Linked DNA regions of Homo sapiens: regions 2, 3, 4, 5, 6 and 7 are each linked to region 1. Evidence: promoter capture Hi-C in 16 types of primary human blood cells and fetal thymus (Javierre and others, 2016). All regions are on one chromosome and are shown on one strand. Each heading gives the region's core, a stretch centred on a gene start or on the middle of the fragment in contact. The rest is flanking DNA. Distances are from core to core; before and after follow the strand shown. Region 1 holds the start of CASC11 (cancer susceptibility 11). Region 2 overlaps CCDC26 (CCDC26 long non-coding RNA). Region 3 overlaps CCDC26 (CCDC26 long non-coding RNA). Region 4 overlaps CCDC26 (CCDC26 long non-coding RNA). Region 5 overlaps CCDC26 (CCDC26 long non-coding RNA). Region 6 overlaps CCDC26 (CCDC26 long non-coding RNA). Region 7 overlaps CCDC26 (CCDC26 long non-coding RNA).

Region 1 (3,386 bases), core at 603-3,102:
CTCAAACCCTCTCCCTTTCTCTGCTGCTCCTCCGTAGCAGTACTGTTTGACAAACCGCATCCTTGTCCTGTGAGTATAAATCATCGCAGGCGGAACAGCTGCCCTCCACACCGAGAACGCACTGCGCGCCCACCGCCACGCCACGCGCGTACCAGGCTGCAGGGCGCCTCGCTAAGGCTGGGGAAAGGGCCGCGCTTTGATCAAGAGTCCCAGGGAGAGTGGAGGAAAGAAGGGTATTAATGGGCGCGCGTTCAGAGCGTGGGATGTTAGTGTAGATAGGGAGGAATGATAGAGGCATAAGGAGGAAAACGATGCCTAGAATGATTAAAATAACCCAGCAACGCATTGCCACGTATACTTGGAGAGCGCGTTATGAATAAACTCCCATTGCATTTGTTGGGGGGAGTCATGTATTATGCATTATGTATGCACAGCTATCTGGATTGGATACCTTCCACCCAGACTGAGTCCCCCAATTTGCTGCCAAAGCAGCAGATACCGCCCCTCCTGCCCCGCCTGCTCAGGCTTCCGTGGGGCCCCGTGCGGGAGGCGTCTGTTTAGCCCTGAGATGTGTCTGCCTGTTCCAGAGCTGGGCTAGGGCGAGAGGGAGGTTGCCTGCTCTCTGCCAGTCTGTACCCCACCGTCCCACCCCCACGCCTCCCACACGGAGTTCCCAATTTCTCAGCCAGGTTTCAGAAGAGACAAATCCCCTTTGCGCCCTGTGGCGCCGGTTTGCAACAGTCTCGGGCTGCCGGGTTTGGGAGAAATCAAAGGTGCTAGACGGGAGAATATGGGAGGGGCAGGGGGTACCCGAACCGCGGGACCGGACTTCCTAAAAGGGGCAAGTGGAGAGCTTGTGGACCGAGCCGGGGGAGTCAGCAGAGACCCTTGTGAAAAAAACCGTTAACTCTTTCCTCCCCGGACAAACCGGACGTTTAATTCCTTTCCAGGTCCTCTTTCCCCTTTTATTATTGGAAATGCGGTCATGCACAAAAAATGCATCGATTCTGATCAAAGAAGAGGAGAGGAGTATTACTTCCGTGCCTTTTTTTGGGGGGGGGGGAGTCTTGAGCTAATTAAAATTTGGCTGCCTTCCAGGCATTAATTTCCTAGTTCACTGACTCACAATTTTTTCTGAATACTAGTGAAAGTGCACTGTATGTAACCCGCAAACGTGTATTCACATTTTATTTACGCTTCGACTTAGCTAGTTGCCCAGCCCCACACATGATTTGTTTGCTCCCTGAAATGATCTATATTTAATATATAATGTATATTCCCTCGGGATTTTTTATTTTGTGTTATTCCACGGCATGAAAAACAAAAAACATTCTTCTCATCCTTGGTCCCTCACCCAAAGGCATTTTAAGTAAACTTTTCTCTCCCTCCACCACCTCCAAAAGAGAAAACAATTCGGGGGAAAGGGGTGCGTGTATAGCATGTACGCTGTTCAAGATGGGTTATTACCCGTTGAGTTTGCAGCTCAGCGTTCAAGTGTTAAGTGAATATAGTAGCTTCCAAATCCGATGCACTGCACAATTCAGCTTTAAGGATTGCAAATTACTCCTGCCTCCAGGCCTTTGCCGCAAACGCGGGGAGCAACCAATCGCTATGCTGGATTTTGCTGCAAAGCGTCTTTCCCTCCGCCCCCTCTCTGGGCAGCACCCGCGTTCAGGTTTGCGAAAGTAAAGTAAGTGTGCCCTCTACTGGCAGCAGAGATCATCGCGCCTGGATGTCAACGAGGGCGGGGGTCAGGTGGGGGCAGGAGCAGGAGCGTCCGAGGTGCAAGGTTTCCAGCGGGGGAAGGACAGGCGGTTCCTTAAAACAAGTTTCCAGCCACCTCCTTGTTATTCTTTCAGGTTGGCTGCAGAAGGTCCGAAGAAAGAGGAGTTACTGGAGGAAAAAGTGGTTCAGAGGTGACTATTCAACCGCATAAGAGATGGTGAAAATTAACCTATCACCACTGCTAATGAACATCACCCTATGGAGAACCGGTAATGGCAAACGTGAAATAATTCACAAGTACATAGACGAAAAAAAAATTCCAACAAACCCTAAAACGGCCAAACAAGCTTTAGCCCCCACGTCTTAGAAACTCATCATCTTTTTTAACCACAAAATTTGAAAGCAAGACACTGGATTTATTGGGGAAAGGGGAGGCACAGCAGAAGGTGATGGGTATTTGGTTTGGCCTATTATTATTAATTATTATTCTTATTATTTTTGAGACAGGGTCTCCTTCTGTCACCCAGGCTGGAGTGCAGTGGCACAATCAAAGCTCACTGCAGCCTCGATCCCCCCGGGCTCAAAGCAAACCTCCTACCTCAGCCTGATACCCCAGCCCAGTAGCTGGGAGTGCAGTGCACCACCACACCCGGTTAATTTTTTAAACTTTTTGTAGAGAGGCAGTCTGGTCATGTTGCCCAGGCTGGTCTCAAACTCCTCGGTTAAAGCGATCCTTCGGCCTTTGCCTCTGAAACTGCTGGGAATACAAGTGCGAGTCATCGCTCCTGGCCTTGGCTTATTATTTTTACTTTTAAAATATTGGGCTGGTGAATAATAAGTGATTTTTTTTAATAGCAAGAAGGGGTATTTGAGATCTCATAGAAAAAAAGTGTGAAGGAATAGGAGCATTTTATTAAAGGTTTTAATACTAAAATGAGTATGCAATAAGGTTGAAGTAAATGTGAAGGAAATTTACCTGGCACGTGTCCCTGGTCAAGTAGGTTTTTACGGGGCAAAGAATCCCTGACGGTGTCTGATCACTTAGATGCCCTAAGGACTTCTGGCAGTGGAGGTTCCTTCCCGCAGGAGCCTTGTAGGCTGATTTCCCAGGAATCTGGCACTTTTGGCATTACTCTAATTGAAGCTAAATGAGTGCTCTCCACAGGGGCATGCACTCCCCGCCCCTCAAAGAAAACCCTCAACAACAAACAAACAACAATGGCAAAACCAAAAGTAGGTCCAGCTTGACCTCATAGGGTAGTTTTTGAAAGTTGCTAAAGATGGCGGATATACCACATCTTCGGATCTGACTCTCAAATTATGCCAGTCCAGTGTAGGGCATGTGAACCCCAGGCAGATATAATGCCTGTGGGTTCAGAACTTAACCTCACTCTCCCTCAGGCTGGTGACATCACCTGAGGTGTTACTTTCAAGTAACAGCTTGGAGTTGTTTTGTGCCATCTCCATTTTTACATGAGAGAAAACAAAGCCAGACCTCAGCCAGGTTAAAGGACATAACTGATTTTCTTTTAGTAATTTTTGAGACATATTTGACCTAGAATAGACATTTGCTGGGTTGAAAAATGGCTGAGATTACAACTAGTATCATGTATAACTACCAAAGTGATACGTGTCCATTGGAAAAATCCATTGAGAAATAG
Region 2 (3,386 bases), core at 441-2,940, 1.8 Mb before region 1:
TGGTCTCGATCTCCTGACCTCGTGATCCTCCTGCCTCGGCCTCCCAAAGTGCTGGGATTACAGGCGTAAGCCACCGTGCCTGGCCTAATTTCTAACTTTTATTAACTAAACTATAGTGCAGTCCCTACCATAGTAGATGCTCAATAAGGTTTGTTGTATACATGGATATGTGCTAGGCAGACTGTTTAGAATTTGGAGGTGTCTTTGGGCAAGTGGCAGCTATTTTGAATGTATGGTAGGTGGGTTGACATGAAATGACCACTTCCTGGCCCCATTTATAATTTCCACGTCTGTGGTAAGTTGTTGGGAAGAAACGCCATGTGGGTCCCTTCATTTGCCCTGGGGAGTTCAGTGGGAAGCAGCCACTTCTCACCCGCCAACTTTCTGTGGTTGGAGAATCTAGATCCCTAAATAGCCTCTCCTTTGTGTGCAGAGTTCTAAACATGGCATCCTTTCCCCCTTCAGATCAAAAATTTTGCCTTCATGTCCAATTCATGTGATGCTTGGCCTCTCAAGGAGGACCTGAAAAAGAAGCCAGATGTAAAGACAATAATGCCTGTAGTCTCCTTGCTTGTCTGCATTCTCCCCCTTCCTGGAATCCCCACAGCCGCCAGGCCATTCTTCACAATAAATCCAGGGTAATCTTTCCAAAACACAGGTCCTATCATGCCATACCTTGCTTGAAACTCCATCCATTGGCTTCCCTTTATTTCAAAGCCTACACTAGCTAATTTAGCAAAATAGTCCCGTCCTAATGTGACTCCTTCCCACTTCTCTCTTTACTTCCCAGAGGGCCCTCAGACCTGGTCCCTCCAGTCCCTTTCCATGCACCTTTGCATCATGTATACTCAGCAATAGTGGCTGACTACCTGGATGTTTTCAACTTAAACTAAGAGGGGATGGGGATACGGAGAGCAAGAGAACAATGAACACTCTGAGCAATGTCAACGTGGGCAGCTGGTCCACTCATCGTGCCATATGCCCCTAGGAAGCCAGAGAGGACAGCTATGACTCTTGTTCTTCGCTTCATTGGTGTCAGTCCCCACATGCCCCCCAGAGTGGGAGCATCTCAGAGCATGCTGTCTTTGAACAACATCACCTCCAATTGTTAACTGCTTCATATTTCTCAAATAGTGATCTGATCACAACTCTGTGGAGAAACTGGCTGTGATGGGCTTACTGAGAGACAGTGTATTGGGCTACAAGAAAGCTCCTTCCAAAATGGGACTTTGTAAGGATACATTTGACTCTTTGCAATTTTCAGTTTTTGTGCTGACTCTGGGTATCTTAAGTGGATAACAATCCCTTCCAATGTAAGTGCAGTTCCTCAAGCTTTTTCAGGCCCCCCATAATGTCCCTCCATCTGACAAGTCCTCCTGTATTCATGTTGTGGCTGATTCTGTTCATCATTCAAGCCTCAGCCCAAACTGCCTCTCCTTGGAAGCTTCCTCGGATCCTCCCCAGACTGCACTTAATTATTTACTCTTTTGTGGGAACAGCACAGCCTTCTATGCTTGAAACAAGATTCTCATTGGGAGTGGTAAATTGTCGACTTCATAATTCTAATATTCCTTTTATCTTTACTGCTTGACATAAAACAGAACTTTCTGTGATAAATGGGTCTATTTGCCCTGAAATAGAGTTTTTACTGAAAAGGCAAAATAAACACTTAACTACTTCTTTTTAATTCCCAATTCGGAAAGGGAGAAATTGTTTTTAAGAATCATTCCAAATGGTGACAAATGAGGTTTTGTTTCTGGCTTTCTCTTTTTTGAGTCATTATGGACTCGTGGCTCTAGTGTATTCAGTATATTTTAATTTGCTATAATCACTACTCTTTTTAGTGTTTCAATCATCACAATTTGGGTCAGCAAGAGCTCCTTCCACCTGGTTCTTGTGTTCTTTTGATATGCCCAATTACTCTTTGAAAGCTTCTTTGCCTTTGAACATAACAATATGTTCTAGGCGTATTTTGTACCTTCCCTAATTCAGTCCTGAAAGCAGCCAGTTCTACAAGAACTCTTGATTTTACAAAGCAAAATCTGGTGCCAGGTGTGGTTATTGATACTGGATGACATGGTGGCTAGGCCATTTCAATGAATTAAGACAGAAAATATGTAATTAATAAAACAGAAAGTTCATTTAACTGTCATCACTTCAATTTTAACATTAGTTTTATGCTTAATTTTTGATTTCATGATTGGCTTTTGTTCTCTTAGAACACCATTAATAGAATTCCTCATTTGCTTTCTTGAATGATACAAAGAGAATAGTTTCAAAATAACAATATGAATGTGAACATAAAATAGTCAGATTTAGTTTAAAATTTGATGTAGTTCTTTTGTCCATGAAGTGTATCCCACTAAGAATGTACAAAGTGCTGTGTTCTCAAACATCTTGGGGAAAAAATAATTGTTTCTCTGTGTGATAATATTTCTAAATTGATATATGGTTATATTTATTTGTCTTGGTTTATTTTTAATTTTAGAAATATTTTTAAAAATTAGCTTTACTTTTAATGAATAATGAACCCACATTATTCAAAGGGCATGATGGTATAGAAAGGTATACACAAAGAAGTTTTGTTTCTCTTTCCCTTACATATATTCCCAATGCATTTCCTATAAGGTAACTACTTTTATTAGTTTTTTGTTTACATTCTCTGTGTTTTTCGTCCTCCTGTTTTTGCAGATATATGAAACATATAGAGGTTCATATTTTCTTCCCTTACACAAAAGGTAGCATATTATAACTCTTCTACGCTTTCCTGTTTTCACTTTGCAATACACTCAGATGAATTTTCCATATTACTACATAGATACTGTCCCCATTCTTTTGAATAGCTGCATGTTACTCCATTGTGTGTCAGTTTATTTAACTGTTCCCCATTGCTGAACACTTGAGTTGTTTTTAATGTTTTGATTTATGAATAATGCTATAATGAATGACCTTACACATTTGTCATCTCATGCTTTTGCAAATGTTTCTGTAGGGTAGATTTCTAGAAATAGAATTAATGGGTCAAAGAGAAAGTCAATTGTAACTTTGCTAAACCCATAAACATTTTATTTCTATGCAATATTGGCTACCTTAAAATGATTCAAAGTGAAAGAATAAATTCATCTTAAAAAGTTATTTTAAAAATATAATACAAAGCAGATATGTAGGATGAACAAGTCTAGAGATCTAATTGTATAACATGAGGACTATAGTAACAAAGTTGTATTGCTGGTGATATATATATTTTTTATTATACTTTAAGTTTTAGGGTACATGTGCACAACGTGCAGGTTAGTTACATATGTATACATGTGCTATGCTGGTGTGCTGCACCCACTAACTCGTCATCTAGCATTAGGTATATCTCCCAATGCTATCCCTCCCCT
Region 3 (3,386 bases), core at 292-2,791, 1.8 Mb before region 1:
TAACCAGTATGTTTGTTGGATGGAAGCATCTAGAGGCCTTAGAATTGTTTGTTGTGTTTTCTTTCGTCTTCTTGGCAATGCTGCTGACTTTGTTTCTTTTCCTGTGTGTCTCCAGAGTCTTTCATGATTTTAATTCTTTCTAGTTTTCAGTTGTACAGGATCACTTTTGCCCCTTCTTTTAAAATGTTATTATTATTATTATTATTATTATTATTATTATTGAGATGGAGTCTTGCTCTGTCACTGAGGCTGGAGTGCAGTGGTGCGATCTTGCCTCAATGCAGCCTCTGCCTCCCAGGTTCAGGCAATTCTTCTGCCTCAGCCTCCCAAGTAGCTGGGATTACAGGCACCTGCCACCATGCTGGCTAATTTTTGTATTTTTAGTAGAGATGGGGTTCCGCCATGTTGGCCAGGCTGGTTTCAAACTCCTGACCTCAAGTGATCCACCCACCTCGGCCTCCCAAACTGCTGGGATTACAAGCATGAGCCACTGTGCCCGGCCTTCTTTTTCTAAAATTTTGATTTGAAGTCTAGTTCATCAGTTTGCCTGCCCAGCTGTTGTCCTTGTCATTGATGAGATGGTGACTTTCCCTTCCAGGAACCCATTTTTTCTGACATGATTAGCAGTGATCTTCACTGCAAAGCCCAGTTACCAGTATCATTTTGATAGCAGGTCCACACTTTGCAAATGTTCCTTTCCCTAAAAGGTCATGATCTTCAACAAGAAGAGAGCAAAGTATCATCTGGGCCAGCAAGTCCTTTAATTTTTACCTGGGGTTGGATGGAACTTGTATTATGATATAATCTCGATAAGCCTGGGCTCAAACTGTGTCTCTACTGCTTCTGTAAAACAGGAGCACCAATGCCTGCTTTCCTGGGTTGTGGGGAGGGTTCACTATGGTAATAAGTATGAAAGCTACTTGCTCAGTCCCTGTCTCATAGCCTCTAATAAGGACTAAGGATGCTTTCTCACCATAAAGTCAACTTCAGAGGTCCATGTAGCTGTTTACCTTGTGTGAACTAGCTCAGTTGAGTAGAAACTGGTAGGCTTGATGGTGATTCAGGTAAAACTGATTTTCTCAGTTTCTCCTGGGATTTTTTTCTATTCCTATTCCATATAAGAACAATTTATTCTAAGACAGAGATTTGAGATTCTGTTTTTGGAATGAAAAAGGCTGGATTTGAGTTTTGGCTTGCTTACTCACTAGCTGTGCAACCCTATGCAAGGTACGTAAACTCTCTAAACTCTAATTTTCTTATTTGTAAAATAGGAACAATAGTAGTAGCTGCCTCATAGGGTGTTTATAATTCATGAGAGAATGTGCATACACTTAGCACATTGTGTGGCCCATAAGAAGCACTCATGGCTGGGTGCAATGGCTGCTGTAATCCCAGCACTTTGGGAGGCCATGGCAGGAGGATTGCTTGAGCCCAGGAATTCAAGACCAGCCTGAGCAACATGGAGAAACCCCATCTCTACCAAAAATACAAAAATTAGCCTGGTGTGGTGGCATGCATCTGTAGTCCCAGCTACTTGAGAGGCTGAGGTGGGAGGATCATCTGAGCCCAGGAAGTTGAGGCTGTGGTGAGTGGTGATCATGCCACTGCACTCCAGCCTGGATGACAGAGTAAGACTCTGTCTAATAAAAAAGAAGCATTGCTAATTCATTCATCCATTCATTGAGAACGTATTGAATATCTGCAATATGCCAGGCACTGCATGTCAGTCTTTACCATAATATCCAAGGTTACGTATTACGTAAATAGGAGAGCCAAGACTGTCAGATACTGGACTTCCCAAGCCCCATACTCTTTACCCAATGATGACTTTGAAAATAGATATTTTTGGGAAATTTATGACTTTTCACTAGTATTAGAGTTTTTGGTGCACTCTCTTCACTCAAACCTTTCTTTACATCTAAGTCTTTTATAGCCTCCATAATACTTCCAAATACACTCAAAGTTCAGGCTGGGTAAATACTCACAGAATGAATGAATTTGGTAAGCAAACCAATATTGAGTCTACATAGAAATTGTATATTCTTTACCGATTCCTACCCTCTATCTGACCATTGATATTTTTCTAATTATTCATTTTTACATTGAGGTTGATTTTTTTTCAAGCATTTCTCATAATTACCCAAATCCTACCAAGAATTCTTATTGCTTTCCAGGCTATGATGTTCAAACCACACTTTGCATGCCACGCATTTGAATGTTCAGTGGCTTAGGTTGGTGACAAGCCTAATTTTCACAATGTTCATTTCTGTCTCATTCATTGCTTTTGACAGGAGCCAGGCTTGCCACATCACACTTGGCCTGTCAGAAAGGTTGAAGAAACTTCCCCAGACCCAAATATTTGGTGGCTGAGTTGGTGTCCCTTTGCCTTACAAAACCTTTAATTGAAGGCAACACATGGATTCTAACTTGTTTAAAATGTCTCCAAGTCCTGGCATGCACTGAATCAAACCCGAGGCCCCAAGAGCTATCATCCACACAGAAACACAGCATTAGAGGGACCGGAGCTCAGGGTGGGGAGCCCTATAAGAATGTAGAGGTCTGTAAAATGGTTCCAATTCATTCTATGAGGTTTGGCAAAAGCCGGAACTCTTGTAGCCAGACACGTTCTGCATGAAGTTTAAATTGTCTTGACATTGGGGTAGGAGAAGTCCTCGCTCTCAGGGTCTACTAATTCATGATTCACTCATTAGGATTGTGTTTTGTGTAAAGTGTCCAAGATATCTAATGATTCCTGCTGAAATATTGTGAATGCTTTGCTTTCCCAATCTCGTCCCTTTACATACTTGGGCAAGATTAAATGGCTTTAGAATCTAGTACATCTTGATTTGTATTTAGGCCATGAAAGCCAAATCATATGACAAGATATAAACTTGGTGAGATCTATTCCCCTCACTCTTTAAAATGACTGACATTACAACCTATTCTATCTATTCAATTGAGTCTTTTAGTTAGGCTCAGATATCTTGTGCAGTGAAAATCTCAAAAACATTTTCCTTTTAGAAACTGTTCACATAGTGTCAACAAAACACTGTTCTCAACTTCAGGCCTTCATGTTTTCAGGGACATACGTTATGCAGCGGGACATATCTTATCTTGCTGAGCAACCCATTATGTCTCCAATGACCCCCTTTGGAAAGTTGGGAGTTATTCTTAACTCCTCCTTCTCAACATCCAATCAATCTCTCAGACATGAAGATTTCACTTTGTTCATATTGCTTGATTGCCCCCTACTTCTCCTAAGCTTATAGCTTATGCCCTTGCTATTCCTCGTGTAGAATATTGTCGTGGCTAGCTGACCAGTCTCTCTGCTTACAGTCTTGCCCTCTTTCATTCCATCCACCAGTCAGCAGTCATAATGATCTATC
Region 4 (3,386 bases), core at 605-3,104, 1.8 Mb before region 1:
GCTAAGGATTTGTGCCTGGGAGACCCATGGACCATGTTTCTTGCAGGGTGATGCTGTTGGCTAGTTTTTCTGATGTGGCACTTTCATTGGCTGGAATGCAGAGCAACCACCAACACTTGTACACTGGGTACTGTGAATGCCACCCATGATTTTTGTTTCTAACTGATCTCAGGTGATCTAGCCCTGCCAGTACTCCCAATGTTTCCCATGAAACATTTCAGGAGTGAGCCTCCTGAAAAAGGTCCGAAAAAGGTCCCCAAAAGGTCCCAAAATGGTGAGGAAGCTGAATGCCCACTTCCAACTCACTTTTCCTCCTATAGAAACCATAGTTTGGAAGGAATTCTCTGTGTGGTGCTGTGACACCTTAGGGGAGGGGCAGCATGGTCAAGGAGGACTGTTTCTCTTACTGTTTAATCATAGATTTTCTTGGTTCTGTGGTCCAGGAGGATGTCTCAACCTTACTCCCAATTTCTGAGATATTCATGATGGTATTTTTTTGCCTGTGGATAGTTGTTAGTTGAACTTCTATATGAGGAAATGAAGCCAGAGAACTCCCATTCTTTTTTTTTTTTGAGATGGAGTCTTGCTTTGTCACCCAGGGTGGAGTGTACTTGCACAATCTTGGCTCACTGCAACCTCCACCTCCTGAGTTTAAGCAATTCTCTTGCCTCAGCCTCCCAAGTAGCTGGGATTACAGGCACCTGCCACCATGCTCAGCTAGTTTTTGTATTTTTAGTAGAGATGAAGTTTCACCATGTTGGCCAGGATGGTCTCAAACCCCGACCTCAAGTGATTCGCCCACCTAGGCATCCCAAAGTGCTGGGATTACAGGCATGAACCACAGTGCCCAGCCAGAGAACTCCTATTTTTCCATCTTGGTGACATTACTCTTCATCTATTTTAAGCTGCTTGTCCTTCTGAGACTTTTAGCTCGATAAGTGTAATTCCTTGTCATTTTCCTGGTCTTAGAACTCTTCAAATCTCTTTTCTCCCTCAGCTACTCCATTCATTTGGGTACCAAATTCTATTGTGTTTCTATAATCTTCCTTCTCAAGTCTGACACTTACCCATATTTTCTATAACGTTTCTTCTCAACTGTGACACTTACCATATTGATTATTTTGTCCCCATTGCTACTGATTTCCCTAGTGCAAATCATCTGAGCTCATAGTTGGACTACTGAAATACCTTCCTGTGTGTGACATTATTATTTCCTCCATAGTAACCCATTCTATGTTTCCTCCATTAGCAGTAACCATGTGTTACAATGAGACTGGCCACACTCACATTTCCAACAATGATACCTCATGGGATATAATACCATATCCTTAACATCTTCACATTGTGATTGATTGCAGGAAATACATTTAATCCAGGTAATGATGTACTTTCTCATGGTCAAACTGATAGGTCCATGTGTAACCTTCCATGTATAGCTTTACAACCTAAGTTGGCCCACTCACTGTGAAACACTGGATTCCCTGGGCAAAGAGAAGCTCTGTTGGATTTGTGTTATGAGTGCATGAAGACTAAGATTACTGTGGTTTGCTTGACTGTGTGTTGGAAGCCAGTCTAAGGACCAAGCTGAAAGACAAGAGAGGGAGGAGTCAGGAAAATTGCAGAGAAAATGATTTAGAGGCCTTAATAATCGTCCTTAAGTTCCCTCTCTGGATCTCAGTTTTGTTAACTTGACAATTTACTTTATGGCTTAAAGCATTTTTAGTTAGGTATTCTTTTACATGTGCAACTCTTCAGTTCCCAAGTAAGCTCCCATCTTAGTTGTGACCTTATCTACCAATGCCAATATCTGTTATAATATTTATTATAAAGGCAATAGCTAACATTTAGTGAAGACTTATGTGTTCTCTGGACTACTCTAATAGTTTAAATGTATTATCTCATTTATAATTCATGGTAATCTTATAAGTTAGATATTTTTAAGGACTTATTTTACAGATGACAAAACTGAAGCCCAGAAAGTTAAATAATTTGGCCAAGGCCACCTGGCTAATATGGAATAGCAGATATATTACTTCGACATGACTACATGACAAATTACCCCAAATCTAGCAGCTTAAAACAGCAAACACTAATAATCACACTACATGTGTGGGTAAAGAATCTGGGCACAGCTTGTCTGGTGCTTTTGGTTCAAGGTCTCTCATCAGTGGCAGTCAAGCTATTGTGCTGGGCTGCAGTTTCATCTGGAAGCTAGACTGTGGGAGTTGGGGAATTCAATTCTAATCTCTCTCATGTGGTTTTTAGCAGGCCTTGGTTCCTGAACACGTGGCTATCTCTACAGTGTAGTCTCATGAGATTGCACTTAATTTTCCCCAGGACTAGTGATCTGAGAGAGAGTGAGCAAAAGATAGTAGGAGTAATAGAAACTATGATGTGCAGATGCACACATGAGGAGTAGAGGTGAGAGAGAGAAAAAGAAAGAGAGATAACACCTAAGATAGAAGCCATAATCTTTTGTAACCTAATGTCACTAGTGACATCCTATCATCTTCGCTGCATTCTATTTGATGGAAGGAGAGGACAAAGGCATAAATTCCAAAAGGTGGGGCTCACTGGGGCTATCATAGAGGTTGTCTACCCCAGTCACTATTCAAATTCTTGTAGTCAGAGTCCACACTATACTGGCTAACTATCGTTATACTTTACAGAGTTTCTAATGCCTGACTTTGTAGGGTCACTCCTCTCTCAAAATTCCTCCAGGCATTCATGATAAATTCTAATGCTATTACACATCTCAGTCTGTCTCTCATAAATCCACACCAAATGCATATTCAAAAAAATTTATTTTAATATTTTTTAAACCTTTTAATTTTATTTTTTGTGAGCATATAGTAGGTATATATATTTATGGGGTACATTAGATGTTTTGATACATTGGATAAAATAGGGTATCTATTGCCTCAAGCATTTATCCTTTGTGTTAAAACAATCCAATTATACTCTTAGTTATTTTTAAATGTACAATTAAATTATTATTGACTATAGTAACCCTGGTGTGCTATCAAATACCAGGTCTTCTTCATTCTTTCTTTTTTTTTGTACATACTAACCATCCCCACTTCCCCCTGTCCCCTAACTACTCTTCTCAGCCTCTGGTAACCATTCTTCTACACTCTATCTCCAGGACTTCAGTTTTAAATTTTAAATTTTAACTCCTATAGATAAGTGAGAACATGTGATATTTGTCTTTCTGTGCCTGGTTTATTTCACTTAACATAATGAACACTGGTTCTATCCATGTTTGTACAAATGATAGGATCTCATTTTTTTATGGCTGAATAGTACTCCATTGTGTATAAGTAGAACATTTTTCTTTGTCCACTTATCTGTTGATGGGCACTTAGGTTGCTTCCAAATTTTGGATA
Region 5 (3,386 bases), core at 516-3,015, 1.7 Mb before region 1:
GATTATTATTGTATATCATCAATTCTAAGATACATTTTTTTCCTCATTTTATCATTTCTATAATGGTTTATCTTTGCCCATTTTTTCGTATTAACATTTCTGAAATTGGAAAGCACTTAAAAATTGATAGAATCTCAGGCACAATGAGATATAGTATTATTATTTGGGTTGTTCCAGGATAAATCATGCAGGGAGGCAGTGGTTAGGTACTGTATTTAAGCTCTTATGAACTACAGAAAAGAAGGATTCTCTCTCTCTCTCTGAAATTCCATGTTTAATCCTAAACTTCTATTGTTATGTATAATTATGTCCATATATCTGTATGTATGGATACACAGATACAAAAGAAATAGATATAGCTGACTATATAGCCATGTCTATATTTGGAGAAACTAGACAAATATTTTAAAAACAGTTTTTTTTTGTACCATGAATTTCTGGGTAAAAGTTAACTTCTAATTTATACTATGAACTTAGTGCCTGGTACATAGGAGGCATTCTATAAAAGTTTACTTAGTAAATTAGATGAATTATTTTTAAAAATATTCTTTCCTAATGAATTTGTAATAATTTTTACTTGAAATTGTCATTTAAATAAGTCTATTTTCAGACTTTAATGACAACCTTATTAAAAATACTCAACCTCTCTTTTCCAGTTATCTTGGCCATTCCTTTTTTTTTGAGAGAGAGAGTCTCGCTCTGTCACCCAGGCTGGAGTGCAGTAGTGCAATCTCAGCTCACTGCAATCTCTGCCTCCCTCGTTCAAGTGATGCTTCTGCTTCAGCCTCCCGAGTATCTGGGACTACAGGTGAACGCCACGATGCCCAGCTAATTTTTGTATTTTTAGTAGAGATGGGGTTTCACCATATTGGCCAGGCTGGTCTTGAACTCCTGATCTTGTGATCTGCCTGCCTTGACCTCCCAAAGTGCTGGGATTACAGGTGTGTGCCACCGCGCCCAGCCTATCTTTCCCATTTCTTATTCATTTTCTTCCTCTGGCCTTTCCTTTTCCTCATCTGTTTCCCTTTAGCTGCTCAAATTCCTCTTTCCATCCTTTGTCCTCAGAAACTTCCATCTGAGGTCCTCAACAATCTCATACAACTTCAGTTTAGTTTTGAGTCAGGGCAATGAAGATAAAATATGAATGGGCTTAGGAAATGGTCTTCCGCATTCATAAAAGAAAAAAATGTAACATTGCTGCCAGGTCACCCAGAACAAGTTCCAATTCCCAATAGTCAGGGAAGAATTTTTAAAGTAAAAAAATCAATGGCTATGAAATTACACATTAGTCCAGGGCAGAGTACTCTGTTTTCCCAGTGAACATTCATCTTACTATAGTAATAGTGGCACAGACAATTTGCTGGAGTGAAGTTGATCTATAAGTGTTTTAATTAAAGTTCTGACAGCCAATTGAAGCCTTTTTTATCTTTTGGATGTATCTTATCAATCTTTCTCTGTCAGTGAATAGCTGTGCCCAGAGAGTTGAATGTATGAGGGAGGTGTAAGTTAACATTCTGGATGTAGTAACTGATCAGGAAGAAAGGGATATTATGGGTTTCTTTTCTTATAAGCTCCCCAAGCTCAAAATTCTATAAGGCATATCTTGATAAGTGTTTGCTGAACACAAGAATTGTTGAAGATTGCTCTGGGACTATGCTTTACCATAGGATGGGAATTTGGCCATGCTAGGTCTATTTGCTGGCTTTCTGTCTTAGAAGCTGTGTATTCTTGAACAAGATACTAAAACCTTCAAGTTTCACTTTTCTCACTTTTAAATAGGGACAATTAACACTTACCTTATCACAGCAGGCAGAGTTGAAATCAGACAAATAAAGAAGACAGTTAAGGCAATGACTGAGTGCTTATTACATGATAGATTTTATGTTAGGCATAGATGACATGGAGAAAACTAATCTTGCTAATTGTCCTTGAGGAGCTCCAAGTTTAGAAGGGAAGATGGACATTGCACGCCTAATGAAAATACAACATGAGGCCGGTCACGGTGACTCATGCCTATAATCCCAGCACTTTGAGAGGCCAAAGGGTGGATTATTTGAGATCAGGAGTTGAAGACCAGCCTGGTCAACATGGTGAAATGCAGTCTCTACTAAAAACACAAAAATTAGCCAGGTAGTGGTGTGCGCCTATAATCCCAGTTACTTGGGAGGCTGAGGCAGGAGAATTGCTTGAGCCTGGGAGGCAGAGGTTGCAGTGAGCCAAGATTGTCCCACTGAACTCTAGTCTGGGCAACAGAGTGAGACCCTGTCTCAGAAAAAGAAAAAAAGGCAAAACAAACAAACATAAAACACGTAAAGGGCTGTCTAAAGTGAGTCACGTAGTGCCACAGGGTACCTTGGATGGAGGCATGGGCTTTCAATGGAGAGGCAGGGCATCCAAGGCTTCCCAGGGATGAGAGGAGAACATGAGATCCATGGAGGTGGGAGTTGCTCTCTTCTGTTCACTGCAATGTTCCCAGCAACTCGAACAGTGCTTGACATATATTAGATCCTACCCCCAAAATTCGATGAATAAATAAATGACTGATTTTGAACTGTGAATTGGAAAAAGATGACAGAGATAACTATGACTTGAGGTGAGGAGTATATGAAGACAAGGCATTCCTGCCTACTCTGTAGGGCCTCAGATTTTTCTGGCACTAGAAAATGGGATCTCAATTTTCTAGTGCTAAATGGGGGCTCCTCTTTCCCCTGCAACTGCCCCCTTAGGCAGATCTATCCTCACTGCAAGAAATGGGGTTTGATACAATGACTGAGACAATTCTGCTTTTATTAATCAGTTCCCAATACTTGTTATCATTACGGACTTCTGGGGGATATTGGGAATTGAATTCTGACAAAAATTAAAGGAAGCTGGAAGAAGTTATTCAACTTTCCAGTATCACCATTACCTTGGTGCCAACAAATCCCCCATATTTCTTGTGCTTACTATAATTCAAAATGTTGCAAACAAATAATTATACAACTTAAGAGAGCCAAGCAGATGGTCAGTGCCTCAAACACAGATTGACCACTGGCTCTATTTTTGACTGCTGATATTAAAAGCAAAATTCAAGTAGGCACTTAATAAGATATTTATTAAATAAGTGAATATGGCTTATGTGTTGTCCCACAGTTCCTGATATTTTTCAATAAAAAGGGATTGGTGAATGATGGTACAGAGTCCAATTATTGGACTCTGATGTGTGTGCCAAGAAGTGGTGGAGTGTGTTCTAAACAACACAGGACGTTAGTCTGGTGAGTTTACTTAAGTCTCAAATCTCCCATGGTGTGGCTTTTGCCTGAACACTACTGCTTGAGAAACCTAGATCATCTCACTCTACAAATAAGAGTTCCTTTAGGCTCGGACAATCCCACTAGTGCGTATCT
Region 6 (3,386 bases), core at 586-3,085, 1.7 Mb before region 1:
CAAAAATTTCTCCTTCACATTTTTCTCAGGAACTACTTTTTCTTATGGAGGTTGAATCAAGCATGGATCTGTTTTTTAAAAGAATTCTAAATAGGCCCTTGCAGATCTCATTTGCTAACAATATTATCCATAGATGTTGGTCCTCTTTAGGAAATAATGTAGGCTTTAGTCAGGAGTGGAGCATCAGTTATAGGTGTGGTGAGTCTTAAAAGATACCCCCTCCTGTTGTTTGCAAGGACCATCAAGTAATGATTTTGCAATTACTTGTCTATTTCTGGATAGTATATATAGATAGGCACACACACACACACACAAACACACACACACACAAAGGTTAATGCTTAAATTGGGTTCTCATAAATTTTATCAAACAAAAGCTTTACCTGACTTCATTTAATTTATCATTATTTTTCTACCAGAGAGACAAAATCATTGAGCCCCTTTAGTGCTTTGTAGATTCAGCCTCCAACTCAGAAATGGTGCATATAGATTCTATGTTGTATGCTAAATGTGACTGACTGTTAATGGTTGTGGATTGCTGTCTTTCGAAAGATTCTGAGGTGATATATCTGGGCTTAAGGCAAAAAGAGTTCTGCTATGGTTGTTGGAAGAGGGAAGGGTGGCTGATATGTCTTACATTTATTTTCCTTTTAAGTTCTACCACTAGAAGAAAGAAAATGTTTCACAAATAAATATTATCTATTTCCCACCTTGTCCCACAATGATGTCACTCTTCTCTGAACTCCTGCAGTATGTACTATTTGACCCATTCAATCATAGCTTCCTAATGTTTTTTAGTGATCTGGTCAGGTATGCATATCTTTTCTATGCAAGTGAATGGCTTTGGACATGAATGTCTAGTGGAAGTCTTGAGTGGACTTCAAATGGCTTAGATAGAATCCTCACTTTACCATCTAATGCTGTTTCTATTGGAGCAAGTCATTTAATGGATCTAAGAACGATTTACTCTTCTGCACAAATAATATTGCACATGATTGTGGTTAAATGAGATAATGCAGATGTTTAGCCCATAGTAGGTTCTCAAACAGTGTTGCCACAGTCATCATGAAGGAATATAATGACCTCCAGTTTTGCAAAATGTGATTGCAATTTGTTTGAATGAACATTGGAAACGAGGAAGAAGTACTGTCCAGGAGATAGTGCCTTAGTTAATAGTCTTAGATTACTCTAACTCCTCATATGGGGCCATTGGTAGGGTGGTAAAGTATGTTGTATATTCCAATATCATGGGTACAACTGTCCCAATGGAAAGGAAAAGCCATCAGACTATCTTAATTGACATTTATTAAGCATTCAACTCTTTAACTCTTTTACATCTGATTCTATGCTTACTAAACTGTCTGCTTGTTACGATTTCTGCTCTCACACAGGGAGAAAACAGTCTTATGATGAAGATATGAATGTTCTGGTCACCATGACAATTATTTGTAACTGTAATTTACTAAATTGGTAAAGGTAGAATGGCCTGGTCATGAAAAGTTAATACTATAGTTTTTGTAATGGTAATTTCTCATTACAAATTAATCAGTTATCATTCTACAAGTCTCACAGGCTAGGATAATTACAGCCCTGAGTGATTGGATTTCTATAAACATTTTAAAAAATTAATCTACAAAGATGTGGACCAGATTGTGAGCCCTGATGAATTCACTAAGGTACTAAATGCGACACTGTGAGATGTTATATAGGACAGACGGTTGTCTTTTTCCTTAGTGTTTCCAGTATAGCCACTGGCAGAGTTTACTGAGATTCTTCTTGGAATATCTACAGGTCAAAATTCCATGAGATCATGAGTTATGAATTTTCTGTCTTTGTTCATTCATTTTCTCTGTCTGGAATGTTTCCCTTCTGCCATCTCCCCAGTGCATAGGAGGCTACGAGAATCAAGATTGATAATGGGTTCAGTATTACAGAGATACTTTGGAAATATAGTCATGACTAGGATAAACCAGTCTTTGCTTTTAAGTTGCTTACATGCTAAGAGGATGGATCTGGAAATACTTTATGTTTTCTAGAGTGTTCTACAATAAAGCTGTTATTAGAACTCATCCTTTATGACTCAGTTCAAATGTTGCCTCTTTGATACCATCTTTGATTCTTCCAGGAAAACTGAATTGTTTTCTGTGTTTCTGCAAATCTTCATACTCCCTTATAATAGAACAACCAAATTCCAAATTTTGATTATCTATTTTCATGTCTTTCTTACTTTCTAATTTCATTAAGAAGAAGAACTCTGGTTTTTATTAAATCATTGGCATCCAGCATCATTCCTGGAAACATAGTAGATGCTATTACATATTTGTAATACAGTTTGAGAGTGAGCTTTCAGTCCTATTATGGTCAGTGACCCAGCTATTTCCAAATCATGTGAACCAATGATCATTTCACCCATAAGATTCTGCATGAGGACCAAATAGTAATTGAAATATTACTGAACATAGCTGAATAAGTGCTATATTACCTTCAGTGGAGGGTCCTCTGGTCAAAGCTGGAATGGAGTAGATGACTTAGAATCAGGGCTGACATGGTATCATATACTCCTGCTAGTCCATCCACTCACTGTGCTCACACACGCAATCCAACTATAAGGGACATTCATAAGGTGTCTACAGAGAAAGGGAAAAAGTCAGGCCCCATGAAAATCCCTGAATCCAAATACCCACCTGGCCAGCTGGAATGATGAAAGAGAGGGCAGAGAATAACAAACCAGCCATGAGTAGTCGGCACTGCCTTAGGTTTGAGACAGGAAGCCTAAAAGACAAGCAGCTCCTGAGCACTGTCATTTTAACAGTCACTACACATGACTACAACTGCACACCAACCTGTGGCTAAACTGACCTAAACTGCTTAGATTAGCCAAACTTTCTCACCAGTGCTGAATCCCTCTAAACAAACCACTTAAGATCCTCTCACCTTCGCTTGTCTTGAGACATTCGTTACTAATTTCAACCACACCACAGCTGTGGTAACCAGTTCTGTGTGGATTCCTACCAACTTCACACAGCACAATTCAACAGCACCTCAGCTCATGCTTCACCTCCGTTCCTCTTGCCTCCTGCATGAGTTCCCTTTTGACTCTGAGGCTCTGTGGAACACAGAGCTGAAGGATCAGTTCTTCCTTCCTACCGTGCACTGTACTGAGATGCAATTGTTCATACTGCCTCTCTTAGCACAGTCTCGAAAGATCAATCAATCATTTGTACTCCACACCAAATGGAGGCCGGCTCCGTAATGGTTTATTGGCTCTCTCTGTTTCCCTACATTAAGCTTTGGGGAGCTATGAAAGAAGTCTGGCATGGGTACAGAAGGCTCGATTACCCTCTCCCTAGAGAGGGTTAATTAATTAATGATGAGACCCAGATTTA
Region 7 (3,386 bases), core at 653-3,152, 1.7 Mb before region 1:
TATATCTCAGAGTTTAGAGATGCTCTATTTTTTCCTTTATGCCACTTAATAAAAGAATAGTACCTTTGGGGGATATTCCTTTATAATTTATAAATTATTTTCATGCTCATTCTCTCATCTCTGAATAGCCCCTGAAAAGGAGACTACTGTGGAGTAAATACCTCATTTCAGTGATTTTTTTGGATTTTCCTCTTACATCTGTGCTTTTGTGACTTGGCTGGAAATATCAGAGCAACTGACAGAGGCCACATAGTGCCTCTAGACAAGGAGACTGAGAAAAGACAAAAGAAACATTAAAAAACAAAATTAACAATAAAAACAAAAGCAGACTTTACAGAAGGAAGAAAGCTGGGCAAATGGCCAGGCTCTGCACATGTTGCATCAGCTTCAGAAAGAAATCCTCTTGGCCAAAGCACGTGGAGTCAGAATCTTTGCCAATGGGCTGCACAAATGAGGATTTAGATGTACAAATGGCATTGCCCAGTGAGCTACTGGCACGTTCCTGTGCTTTCCATGCTCCTGTAAATTCTTCTCGAAAGGTGAATTGTTTTTAACAATCAAAGCCTGGCTTTGATGGTAGCTGCCATGAGGCAGGCCTTAGCCCCGGGGTCTGCACATGGACCCTCCTGCTTGCTCTGATCACTCACACCCCGCACCTCAGTCCCCATCCAGCAACTGCTGTGTCCTCCCCTTCCCGTGGCTTCTTTTTCTTTAAGTGGGATTTCTCCCAGTTTGGGCCCCTGCTCAGCTGCCTCAGTTGGCAATAGCTATTGGGAATGGGTGTTCAGAGCCTCCAGCTGCCTCCCCAAGGCAGCCAGTACTCCACCCTTCTCAAAAGCTCTGCATGTCTGGCTTGTCTTTCTGCTTTGTGTCTCTCTTTTCTCTTATTCACAAATATACTACTTAAAAATAAAATTTAACGAACAAAGAACCTCCCTGCTCATACCATGTTCTTGCTCATACCTATGCAGAGTCTTTCCATTATCTTTGATGCCAGGCCTAGCATCCCAGGTGCGGAAGTTTGGGCCTCTCATGATGCAGCAATGAGTGCCCACAGGACGTGGCCTGAGCATTTCTCTTGGCAAATGTCATTGCTTGCTGTGTGTGGTGCTACGGGGGTGTGAGTCTTCTGACTTTCAGCCTCTTGAGGGCTGGGTCCACATCTGCATGTCTGACTGAATCTGATACTTCTCACAGCACAAGGCAGAGCTCCTGATTCAGGGTATATGTTCTGTGAATATTTGCTGCATGCAAAAAAGAATGAATGAGTTATCTGAGTAACATTGTGCATCCGAGCAAAGCAGGAGCTGTGATATTGAACAAAAGACTTGAATGACTGCTTTTTTCTTATGCATTCTTTTATTTGGAAAATATTTTTAAGCAGAAAATCATGAAGAATAATAAAAACAAAGTATCTTGCACCCATTATCTAAAACTGAATTGGTAATGGTTTTTCTTCATATCTGCTTTAGATCTTTAATAAATGAAATAAATGTGACTGTATGTCCTACATCCCATTCCTGTTGTCTTCCATGTCTCCTCAGAGGTAAGTACTATTAACTCTATATAGAGGTATACAGTATATATAGTCTTCTCTGTATATATTTTATCTTTTCTTATACTTTTATGTACAAATACGTGTATCAACCAGTACGTAGCAGGAATCAGCAGATTATGGCCTGTGAGACAAATCCAATTCATGACTTGCTTTTGTAAGGATTCCAAGCTAAGAATGGTTGTCACACTTTAAAGAGCTGTAAAACAAACAAACACAAATAATATACTACAGAGTCTGTATGTGGCCTACTAAACCTATAATATTTACTCTTTGTCCTTTATAGAAAAGTTTGCCAAATCTGATATATAATATTAGCTTTGTTTTAAGCTATAAAAATGTATCATATCCTGTAATCATTCCAAAATTTGTTTCAATTTTCAGCCCTACATTTCTTGAATTCTGTCCTTATGGATATATACATTCTGCTTTAGTTCTTTTAATGGCTGCATAATATTCCACCATATTGATATAACATATTTTAAATTCATTCCCCCATGTAATTGACAGTTATATTGTTTCTGTCTTTTTCACTATGAAAAAAATTGCAAGAAATAATCTGGTACCTTGTGGACTTGAGAATTTTTTAAAGAATACATTCTTGGAAATGGAGTTACCAGTTTATAGAGGTTGTACATTCTCAATGTTGCTGGACAGAACCAAACTATTCTTGGCAGGAGTTGTAAATGTTTCAACAATGTCTTAGTCTGTTTTGTGCTATTGTAACAGAAACCGAAGACTGGGTAGTTTACAATGAACAGCAATTTATTTCTCACAGTTCTGGAGGCTGGGTAGTCCAAGATTAAGAGGCCAGCATATGATAAGGGCCTTCTTGCTTTATCATCTCATAATGGAAGAGCAAAGAGAGAGTGGGAGATAGACAAAGTGGATCAAATTCATCTTTTTATAAGAAAACCATTCCCCCAATAATGAATCCACTCCCACAATAATGGCGTTAATTCATTCTTGAGAGCAGAGCCTTCATGACATAATCACCACTTAAAGTCCCCACTTCTCAACACCTTTGCACTGAGGGTCAAGTTTTAACACACGAGCCTGGAGGAACACATTCAAACAATAACCTTCCCTTTGAGATACATTCTTAATCTCGCCAGGCTTTAGCTCTCCCATTGACCCAGCTAATGGGAAGCCTAAGTCCTGTCCTAATGACCTTCAGTGCTCTATTTCCTCCATGTAACAGACAAAACATCACAAGTAAAATCTCTTTGAAGAGCTGCAAGTTGCAGGTAAAATAAGAGTGTTGTCGGTCTAAAGAGGTTACATGCAAGAATATCAAGAAAGGTTCTCTCTAGCCTGAGTAGAAATAACAGAGGCAGAAGACTCTCTGAGAGACTTTGTCAAGAGGATGCCGAACAGCATTCCACTTCAGAGCAACGTCTAGTGACAGGTGTTCTGCTCTGTGGCAATTTGGCCCACTGCACACTTTCCCCAGGTGCTGTCGGTGATTGCTGTGGTTGGGGACCACTTCCCTCTAGGTTCACAACTCTAGGGACAAAGACTGACAGAGCAGATCCCCAGTGAAGCCAGTTGTGATTGCACCAAAGAATCTGTTGAGCATTTATGGTGTAACTCATGCTGACCCATAGTCTGGAGCCAAGGCAGGAGAAAGGAAGTCATGATATAAAATCCTTGCTTCAAGTTGTTAGTGGTCTAACTATTGCCTGGCATGAGAACCAATAGGTCCTTAGCTCTGTGGGGATCTCCTTGATCCTTGTAACATAAGAGATCGTCACACGTGTTCTAAACACAAAGTGAAATAAACTCACAGGACTGGGTCCAAGCTGTAGGTCCTTTGGGTATATTTGTTGGT

Evidence for each region. The method cuts DNA at HindIII sites, captures the fragments that hold promoters and counts their contacts. A CHiCAGO score of 5 or more calls a contact.
Region 2: a contact is called between a fragment that was not itself captured here and the fragment with the promoter of CASC11 in region 1, in 4 of 17 cell types (monocytes, megakaryocytes, erythroblasts and 1 more). The highest score is 7.8, in monocytes.
Region 3: a fragment that was not itself captured here is called in contact with the fragment with the promoter of CASC11 in region 1 in 8 of 17 cell types (erythroblasts, monocytes, megakaryocytes and 5 more); the score reaches 17.4 in erythroblasts.
Region 4: a contact is called between a fragment that was not itself captured here and the fragment with the promoter of CASC11 in region 1, in 1 of 17 cell types (neutrophils). The highest score is 7.8, in neutrophils.
Region 5: a contact is called between a fragment that was not itself captured here and the fragment with the promoter of CASC11 in region 1, in 1 of 17 cell types (neutrophils). The highest score is 5.4, in neutrophils.
Region 6: a fragment that was not itself captured here is called in contact with the fragment with the promoter of CASC11 in region 1 in 1 of 17 cell types (monocytes); the score reaches 5.3 in monocytes.
Region 7: a fragment that was not itself captured here is called in contact with the fragment with the promoter of CASC11 in region 1 in 1 of 17 cell types (neutrophils); the score reaches 5.8 in neutrophils.

What each region holds. Positions count from the first base shown.
Region 1 is chr8:127,732,433-127,735,818 of GRCh38, reverse strand. CASC11 (cancer susceptibility 11) reads left to right here and starts at 1,852. Exons shown (of 4, transcript NR_117102.1): 1 at 1,852-1,994. It also overlaps a transcript of MYC not described here. RefSeq lists a silencer at 1,658-1,777, a cis regulatory region at 360-3,102 and an enhancer at 2,682-3,183. The HindIII fragment of the contact is 10,989 bases long and covers 1-2,074 here.
Region 2 is chr8:129,562,788-129,566,173 of GRCh38, reverse strand. The region is part of intron 1 of CCDC26 (CCDC26 long non-coding RNA); the gene reads left to right. Among named protein-coding and RNA genes, the nearest start is that of MIR3686, 80 kb to the right of the region's middle. The HindIII fragment of the contact is 487 bases long and covers 1,447-1,933 here.
Region 3 is chr8:129,542,192-129,545,577 of GRCh38, reverse strand. The region is part of intron 1 of CCDC26 (CCDC26 long non-coding RNA); the gene reads left to right. Among named protein-coding and RNA genes, the nearest start is that of MIR3686, 60 kb to the right of the region's middle. The HindIII fragment of the contact is 3,446 bases long and covers 1-3,264 here.
Region 4 is chr8:129,525,075-129,528,460 of GRCh38, reverse strand. The region is part of intron 1 of CCDC26 (CCDC26 long non-coding RNA); the gene reads left to right. Among named protein-coding and RNA genes, the nearest start is that of MIR3686, 43 kb to the right of the region's middle. The HindIII fragment of the contact is 4,183 bases long and covers 1-3,386 here.
Region 5 is chr8:129,467,248-129,470,633 of GRCh38, reverse strand. All of the region lies in intron 2 of CCDC26 (CCDC26 long non-coding RNA), which reads left to right. Among named protein-coding and RNA genes, the nearest start is that of MIR3686, 15 kb to the left of the region's middle. The HindIII fragment of the contact is 7,441 bases long and covers 1-3,386 here.
Region 6 is chr8:129,415,326-129,418,711 of GRCh38, reverse strand. The region is part of intron 2 of CCDC26 (CCDC26 long non-coding RNA); the gene reads left to right. Among named protein-coding and RNA genes, the nearest start is that of MIR3686, 67 kb to the left of the region's middle. RefSeq lists a silencer at 2,695-2,989. The HindIII fragment of the contact is 2,911 bases long and covers 380-3,290 here.
Region 7 is chr8:129,386,205-129,389,590 of GRCh38, reverse strand. All of the region lies in intron 2 of CCDC26 (CCDC26 long non-coding RNA), which reads left to right. Among named protein-coding and RNA genes, the nearest start is that of MIR3686, 96 kb to the left of the region's middle. The HindIII fragment of the contact is 4,270 bases long and covers 1-3,386 here.